3 separate regions of the Homo sapiens genome follow, and all the other regions are linked to region 1. Evidence: promoter capture Hi-C in 16 types of primary human blood cells and fetal thymus (Javierre and others, 2016). All regions are on one chromosome and are shown on one strand. The core of a region is centred on a gene start or on the middle of the fragment in contact, and the rest is flanking DNA. Distances in the headings are between cores, read along the strand shown.

Region 1 (2,890 bases), core at 106-2,605:
TAGGGCAACGGCTATGACTTTTAATTCTGCATTATTAAATGTGTAACACACTGACCCAGGGGTAAGTTGCTATTCTCAAGGTTTAGTGACCCGCATCCTTCCCCTTATATAAACAGATTTATACGGGGACAATTTCGGAATTGAATCCACTTTTAATACTTTCTCTGACTTCGCAGAAAACAGCTGGCTTTGCAGAATATATGCCTGTAGCACAATGATTATCAAGATGAGGGTAGGTGTGTTGTGTGGTTTGGCAAAGCATGTTCAGATAATTATATAAATGGTAAAAAATAAACTTTTTTTTTTTTTGAGACAGAGTCTCGCGCTGTTGCAAGGCTGGAGTGCAGTGGCGCGATCTTGGCTTACTGCAACCTCTGCCTCCCGGGTTCAAGCGATTCTCCTGCCTCAAGTAAAGCTTGACAATAACTTGGCTGCACAAATATGGGTTTTAAAAGGTTGAGAAACAGTGTTTCACACCTGCCTTTCTACACTATGTTATTAACTAATTGAATCGAGTTGGAATAAACTAGTTAGACTTGTGTGCACAATGAGTCAAATGGCTCAAATCAAAGGTCTGAGGAGCCTCCATGAACCAGGTGCTTGAGCTGTGTGATGTTAAGACTTCAGGTATACCGAGCACGCTTCATTCAGCCTTGGCTCATGAAGTCCCTACAGTCTTAGAATGGAATACCATATAACACTTCTCTGCCCATCTAAATCCCATGCAGGGTTTAAGACTCAACTTCTCCACACTCTGACCTCGTCCTGAATTCCAAGGGCAGTGAGGAGTCTATATAACAGGATATTTAATAAGTGATTACGTTCTGCTGGATGTTTTTTACTGTCTGCTTAAATCTAGCCAGTCTCAACAACAGTAGGGAGACAGGATACTCAAGCGCCAATCGAATGGAAACGGATTGTTAACAGCCTATTATAACCCTCACGTGGGAACCAGGACGTCCAAACCTGGTTAACAGAGCCCACAGAGTTCATGGGCGAAGGACTGTGACAGTCAACCTCTTGTCTGAACAAAAAGACCCACTAACGAGTGAAAAAAGACCTCCTGGGAGGGATGGGGTGGGGGAGAGGGAATTCAAACCTTCTCAACAACAAAAAGCAGCTTTCCTTAGCCCACTCCACTTTCCAGCTCAATAATTGCTACCCCTCCCGTGCGACGATTCCCTGCCCAACGTAGGAAAAAAAGAGGTCCAAAAGGTTATAGCATCACCTTTGCCCTCTGACCTAGGAGCGAAGACTCACCAGTTTCATAATGGACTTTTGGTGGTTCAATAGCAGTCACTGAACTCCTCAAACCCAGGAAGCGTCTTCCGGTGCAATCTCCGCCACCTGCCAGCCGAGAGCATCGCGGGACTTGCAGTCTTTCATCCTCACGTCCCTTCCAGGGGAATAATGGGAAATGTAGTCTCCCCTCCAGGCATCATGGGAACTGTGGTCGCCTTTCCTTTTCCTCCCTTTCCTCTCCGAACGCCTCCTTCCGTCAGCTCAAATTCATCCCAGCCGCCAATGCATCCTCCCTCTCCACCCCAGCATGATATCATGTCTTCCTTACGGGCCTGGGGCCCATGGTGTTCTGGGATGTGTAGTCCCGACGGCTCCGACTCCCCTTTCCCTCCTCCCAAAGGGAAGGCGGATGGGCACGGGGCTTGCCGGAAGTTGTAGTTCCCTTGGCCCTCTAGGCGCCGGGCTCCGCAATTTTTCTCAGGGGAGGCAGGAACTACAACTCCCAGGGACGCCCGGCGGCAGCAGGTGGGAGAGGGGCTGTTGATATCAATATGGCGGTTGTCAGCCAGACAAAGACAGTCAGTCTGATGTGATTGAGACAAGGGAGGTTTTTCAGGGGGAGACTGGGAGATAGGGGCCTCCCCTCCCCCTTCTCCTCTTCCTGCGCCGGCCTCAACCCCTCCCCAGTCCCCTCCCGACGGGCGCCCCACGCGGAAGACACCCCTCCCCCTCCCGCCTTCCCTCCTCCCTATCTCAGCCCTTCGTACTGGGACGTTGGGGAGGGGGCTGTGCCGGGCGGAGAGAACTCAGCGAGGATTCTGAGGTGAGTCGAGCGGTTTTGAAGCCGGACTACCTCAAGTCTCTTTCCTCACTTCTTTCTCTTCACTTAAAACAATTTTTTTGGAGGGGTTTTGGGGAGGAAGTGAGCGGACGCTGGGGATGGGTCTCGTAAGCGGCCGGATTGAGAGGAGGGAGGAAGCAGGGGGCTTCCGAGTGGGTGACCCAGACGCGGGCTGTGGGGTGGGGCAGTTCGTGGGGTCCGGTCCTGGAAAGGCGTCGACTGCCCCCCAACTCTTCTGGTTTCCTCTACGATGAGCGGAAGGTTTGAATCCTGGAGGTGGGGTCTCCGGTGTGGAGTTCTGGAAACTGTGAGGTGATTTGCAGGTGTGTTGGTTTGTTTGGGGTGTGTAAGTGTGTTTAAACTGTGTGACGTGTACTTGTGTGCTCTGCTCGTCTTGGAGCGGTGTCTGTAGATGGGAAGTTAGACAGCGCGAGTCCTCGCTCGCTCTGGGCCTGGGCTGAGGGGCGGGCGTGAGGTCCTGGTGCTGGGCGTTTGGGCTGGCGACGTGGTGCGAGGCGGCCGGGCTCAACAACTCGCTTGTGTCCCGTCGCCCGCTCACACTCTGCCACTCGCCTCCGCCCCCTCCCCTGGACGAATCTCCACCCCAAACTCCAGCCACGAGAACTGTAGAGATGGTGTGATGTGGAGATGGATTTTTTGCATCCTCAAGTCGGTAGATAGGTGGGAAAGGAAAAGTGTTTCTTAATATTTTATTCCGGAACCGTGTTTTGGTTACACTATTGGGGCTACTTTGAAAGGCGTCCTCCACCCACCTTCACCCCGAAACAGTAGGTAGAGGTATCTTGT
Region 2 (2,890 bases), core at 144-2,643, 1.3 Mb after region 1:
ACCCACGTCTTTATTGACAGCAAGCCAGTGATAAGCATTGTTTCTATAGATTTTAGATTAACTAAAAGTATTCCTTATGGGAAATAAAGGGATGGGCCGAAATAAAAGGATGGGCTCTGGCTCGTTATCTGCAGCAGGAGCATGTCCTAAAGGCACAGATCGCTCATGCTATTGTTTGTGGTTTAAGAATGCCTTTAAGCAGTTTTCCGCCCTGGGTGGGCCAGGTGTTCTTTGCCCTCATTCCAGTAAAACCACAACCTTCCAGTGTGGGCATCATGGCCATCACGAACATGTCATAGTGCTACAGATATTTTGTTTATGGCCAGTTTATGGCCAGATTTTGGGGGCCTATTCCCAACATGTCCCCCTTCTTTGATTTACAAAACAATACAAGCAAAGGCAGCTTTGTCACAGTGAGCTACTTCTCACAGGAGTCAGGATATGCATCTGCAGACTACACAAAGACAAACAACACAGATTAAAAGCACAATCATCATTGAAATCACAGAGCATCCAAGTGTTTTTATCCATTTTAATGGGTTACTAGCTGCTAATCTGTCTGCAGCTCCTTCAAGCACTCCAGTTCCTGGCATTAATGTCAGGTGTGCCTGGGATGCTTTAAATATTTGTTCTTTTAATTTTGTGATATCCAAAGACAAGTTTGTACAGTGTCCTTCTAGATGCTTTTTTATTCTTTCCCAAATTTTGATCTTATTAAGAGCTATTAATTGTTTCCACAAATCCTTATGTTTAGCTCCTACAGTGGGACGTATCATTTGAGGTTGAGGTGCCACTATACCACCATGGTTCCAGATAATAGGAACTCTTGCCATACTTCTTACCGTTTCTACCATCTGACTGTTTTGTTCAGACCAGCTGAATATAGTGTGGCCATGGCATGCAGACTGAGAGGTGCAATTCAAGCTAAACATCCCCTTGGGGACGAATTAATAATGATTCCATAGGAATCGTTGCACAGCACCTCTGCCTGTTCTGCAATGCAATCTTCCCAAACAAGTACGTCCATTAATTCTGGCCAGGTCCAATTCTGTTTACAAATAGGTTTTTGAGGGTGGTATGCCTCAGTTATAGGAGCAGATTTATTATGGTAAATACTGAGGTCAGAAAGCATGTGTAACTGTGTCATAGACTGATTACATCCAGGCATTATTGCCAGCCAAGATTGATAAATATGCCCAATAAGTATAATTGTTCTTTGTGTCAGCCCTTGTTGAAGGAATACTTACGGCAATGGTGATCACCACATCATAGCTACCATTAAATTACTCATTGTGACTGGTTGTCCCGCTTTTCTCAAGTTTTCTTCTGCCATCTGTGACAGCTTCTTGATCTGTCCTCAGGTGGGTGGCTGTGTTTGATGGGTGTTGCTCGTGACAATTGGGGTCCTCCTCAGCATCACTCTCAACGTGGCTGTAATTGGGGGGTCCTCAGGATCCTCCCAGAATCTCTTCCTCAGCATCTAGTTCATGATAAGTTTTCAGGTGTCTTGATGGTATCCAAATCGGCTGTTGATTTGGTCCTGGAGAAACACAAGCATAACGTCTACCCCAAGTTATTATTTTAAGGTTGTATAACTGAATTAATGGCTCTTAAGTCAGTTAACATTCTCCATTTACCTGATTTTTTCTTAATTACGAAAACTGGAAAATATTGGAGCTATGCGCCCGTTTTCTAATTGTTCAGTAACGAATTCCTCTAAAGCCTCAAGTTTCTCTACTTAGCGGCCATTGTTTTATCCAAATTGGCTACTCTGTTAACCATTTTAAATGTACAGATTCTGGAGGCTTAACAATGGCCACCATCAAAAATGATATCCTAAACCTTGGTGGGAACTTTGTCTTTCCACTTGAAGCGGTTCCTTTAAACCTTGCAAACTTTTTCCTAGTCCCATACCAGGGACATACCCCATTTCATGCATTATATGTTGACTTTGAGGGCTATATAATTGTTCAGGAATTAGAACTTGTGCTCCCCATTGCTGTAACAAATCTATTCCCCATACACTTATAGGTACAGAAGTTATAATTGGTTGAATAGTCCCAGGTTGTCCATCGGGCCCTTCTCAATGCAAAATATAACTACTTTGATATACTTCAGGGGCTTTACCAACTCCAACTATGTTAAATTGAGTGGGTTGAATTGGCCACGCGGATGGCCAGTGTGTAGAGAAATGATTGAAATGTCCGCTCCTATATCTACCAAACCTTTAAATTTCTTTCCCTGAATAGTTATTTCACAGGTAGGACATTTATCAGTAATTTGATTTATCCAATAAGCTGCTTTGCCTTGCTTATTCGTGCTTCCAAATCCTCCTGTTCATTTAATTTCATTTTTCCCCATTCCCACATACGGCACAATCGGGAGCTGTGCTCTGAGTTCTCCTGGCTCTGCTTTCCAGGGAACGGAAGTAGATATAACAATTTGAATTTCCCCATTGTAATCTGAATCAATGACTCCTGTTTGTACTTGTACCCCTTTTAAATTTAAACTAGACCTTCCTAAAAGTAATCCTATCATCGCTGCTGGCAAGGGTCCACAGACTCCTGTTGGGGCGTTTTGCAGGGGTTACCCAGTCAGAAGGCTCACAGCTTTTGTGCAGCATAAATCTACTGCGGCACTACCGGCTGTGGCAGGGGACAGACATTGTACGGGGTGAGGGAATGGCCTGAGCCACAAATGCCCTGGTTTGGAATGGGGCCGGGATGGGCCCCTCAGGGTGTTTCCCGAAATCGGGTTCCCATCTTTATCAAACTTAGAATGACACTGGTTAGCCCAATGTTTTCCTTTTTGCATTTTGGACATACTTCAGGCTCAGCAGTTTTCTTTTTTCCCCCATCTGGTGGCCTGACTTCCTGATTTTTTTCTACAT
Region 3 (2,890 bases), core at 137-2,636, 1.1 Mb before region 1:
CCCCCCTTAAGCCGCAGCTCGACCTGAATTCCCAGAGACCCTGGCCTTTCAGTTTGTTCATTCATTAATAGCTTTGAAATAACGCTTGTGTGCTGCTTTGGGGGGAATTTCCCTGATCCCAGGGAAGGGGAAGGAAATGAATTCTGACGAGCCACGTAGCCGCCTGCTCGTGCATTCTAGCATTTGTTTTCAGCAGCCTTACGACTTCAAGAGATTTTTATAAAAAGGGAAGCAAACGGCTTGCTCCGGGCTCATCAGCTAGGAAAATGGCAGAGGACTGTGCTTCACCCGTTTTCTTGCTGGGCTCTGATGAAAAGTTACAGACGGTCTCTGCCTTCATTGAAGGCTGTTGAGATGGGGAAACAAGAAAATGTCTTAAATGGACTATTAGGGAAATACAGGGTGCCATGGAAGCAGAACAAGCGCGTGTAACCCTTGGAGGGGTGGAAGGAGAGCAATGTCGAGGAAGACCTCCCAGAAAATAGGGTTTTAACTTGGTGTGAAATAGACTAATTAAAGGGGGTATAATTTTGATAAAGCGATTTTTAATATTTTGATGAATGTGGTTATTGTCATTTCTTTTAGGAATTCAATAAAGAAAATGGCAGCTCTTACTCCAAGGAAGAGGAAGCAGGATTCTTTGAAGTGTGACAGGTGAATCTCAGCCTGTGAATAGAAACTCTTAGAAAAATCCACCTTCTTGTCTCTCTTGTTCTCTCCTATTTTCTAAAATTTTCGTTCTTCCACTAGCCTACTCCTTGTGGCTACAGTGATAACCTGATAACCTATATTCTAATTCTAGCTTGGAAATACATTAAGTTTTCATAATGAATTATTTAGTCCTTTTCAAGGGAATCAAAGCTGTTTTTTAGTTTTTGTTTTTTTCTTTTGACATAGAAGCAGCACATTGAAGAAAGCTGTTTTCTATAGCTAGGAAATATACCAAATCAGCTATTACCTTTTTCCTTTCTGTTCCCCTATAATATTTTACAGTGTTTTGCATACAGTAGATGCTTGTCTGGAAACAATTCTAGAAAGACTGTGTACTCAGATATTAATTACTCTACCCAGGAAAAGCCCCAGGGGGTCAGTTCATTACAGACAGTTATTATAGGGGGCTTGTAAACAATAGAGCAAAATATATGAGCTATAATTTATATATGGCCAACACATAGAAATCGATTTTAAAACATACATGCATATATGTCTATCATAGCTTCTTTGTATATAGTATTTGTTTTCATGAACTCTTTGGGAAGATATTTGAATGTTTTATTTGATAAAGACAGAATTTGAGAATCCTACTGTTAAACTAATAGAAAATTGTGTGTATGGGGGGTACATGTATTGTTTTTAATATGACCTACAAGTAGAGCTTACTTAGCAGTAGATTTATGTAAATTTTGACGCAAAATAATCTTATCAATGGACTTTGTTTCTTTTTATAGCCTTTTACACTTCACTGAAAATCTGTTTCCATCACCTAATAAAAAGCACTGTTTTTATCAAAACAGTGATAAAAATGAAGAAAACCTGCATTGCTCTCAACAAGAGCATTTTGTTTTAAGTGCGCTCAAAACAACTGAAATAAATAGACTGCCATCAGCAAATCAAGGCTCACCATTTAAATCTGCGCTCTCCACTGTATCTTTTTACAACCAAAATAAGTGGTACCTCAATCCACTGGAGAGAAAGCTGATAAAAGAGAGTAGATCTACTTGTCTAAAAACTAATGATGAAGATAAATCTTTTCCCATTGTGACAGAAAAAATGCAAGGAAAACCAGTCTGCTCCAAGAAGAACAACAAAAAACCACAGAAGAGTTTAACTGCTAAGTATCAACCAAAGTATAGACACATCAAGCCTGTATCAAGGAATTCTAGAAATTCCAAGCAAAATCGAGTGATCTATAAGCCAATTGTGGAGAAGGAAAATAATTGTCATTCAGCTGAAAATAATTCCAATGCTCCTCGGGTTCTGAGCCAAAAAATAAAACCACAAGTTACACTCCAGGGTGGAGCAGCATTTTTTGTTAGAAAAAAATCTTCTCTTAGAAAATCGTCCCTGGAAAATGAGCCGTCACTGGGACGCACCCAAAAGAGTAAATCAGAAGTCATTGAAGATTCTGATGTAGAGACTGTCAGTGAAAAAAAAACTTTTGCGACAAGGCAAGTGCCAAAGTGCTTGGTCCTAGAAGAGAAATTGAAAATTGGACTACTGAGTGCAAGCAGTAAAAATAAAGAGAAATTAATAAAGGTAAAGCTAAATATATCACTTTAAAAATGGCTGTATAACAAAACTTCAGTATAAATGACATAGTTGAATAAAATTTTATTTTCTGGACTGCTTTTATAAAGCCAGATAGCATAGTGTTTAGTTACTGTAAGGAGTTTATTTATTTATTTATTTTAAGACAGGGTCTTTCTTTATGACCCAGGCTGTAGTGCAGTGGCACACTGCTCACTACAGCCTCAACCTCCTAGGCTCAAGCAATCCCACCTCAGCCTCCCAAGTAGCTGGTACTATAGATGCACACCACCTCACCCGGCTAATTCTTGCATTTTTTGTAGAGGCTGGGGTTTCACCATGTTGCCCAGGCTGGTCTCGCACTGCTGGGCTATAGTGATCCACCTGCCTCACCCTCCCAAATTGCTGGGATTATGGGTGTGAACCACTGCACCTGGCCCAGCCACATTTTAAGTTCTCAATAGTTACATGTAGCTGGTGGCTACCATATTAGACCATGCTGGTCTAGAACTTCTGTTGCTGACCTCCTGTTTATATCCTTCATCAGAAAAAAAGTTGAGTTTTGTGGGGCAGCTAGGGGCAGAAAGCCATTGAAGCAACCTTAAGAGAGGTTGTCTCCAGATCAGGGCTTCCATGTATGGTG

The links. Contacts are between HindIII fragments. The CHiCAGO score rates a contact against its expected background, and 5 or more counts as called.
Region 2: a fragment that was not itself captured here is called in contact with the fragment with the promoter of INTS9 in region 1 in 1 of 17 cell types (fetal thymus); the score reaches 5.1 in fetal thymus.
Region 3: a contact is called between a fragment that was not itself captured here and the fragment with the promoter of INTS9 in region 1, in 1 of 17 cell types (non-activated CD4 T cells). The highest score is 8.4, in non-activated CD4 T cells.

The regions. Positions count from the first base shown.
Region 1 is chr8:28,888,614-28,891,503 of GRCh38, forward strand. INTS9 (integrator complex subunit 9) reads right to left here and starts at 1,356. Exons shown (of 17, transcript NM_018250.4): 1 at 1,261-1,356. The coding sequence starts at 1,269. It overlaps HMBOX1 (homeobox containing 1), which reads left to right and starts at 1,782. Exons shown (of 10, transcript NM_001135726.3): 1 at 1,782-2,065. RefSeq lists enhancers at 1,139-1,695, 1,335-1,534, 1,696-2,252 and a silencer at 1,905-2,024. The HindIII fragment of the contact is 2,854 bases long and covers 414-2,890 here.
Region 2 is chr8:30,147,213-30,150,102 of GRCh38, forward strand. No RefSeq gene overlaps it. Among named protein-coding and RNA genes, the nearest start is that of MBOAT4, 4.0 kb to the left of the region's middle. The HindIII fragment of the contact is 4,047 bases long and covers 1-2,890 here.
Region 3 is chr8:27,774,914-27,777,803 of GRCh38, forward strand. It overlaps ESCO2 (establishment of sister chromatid cohesion N-acetyltransferase 2), which reads left to right. Exons shown (of 11, transcript NM_001017420.3): 2 at 586-654; 3 at 1,449-2,256. The coding sequence starts at 602. Among named protein-coding and RNA genes, the nearest start is that of ESCO2, 1.8 kb to the left of the region's middle. The HindIII fragment of the contact is 4,359 bases long and covers 1-2,890 here.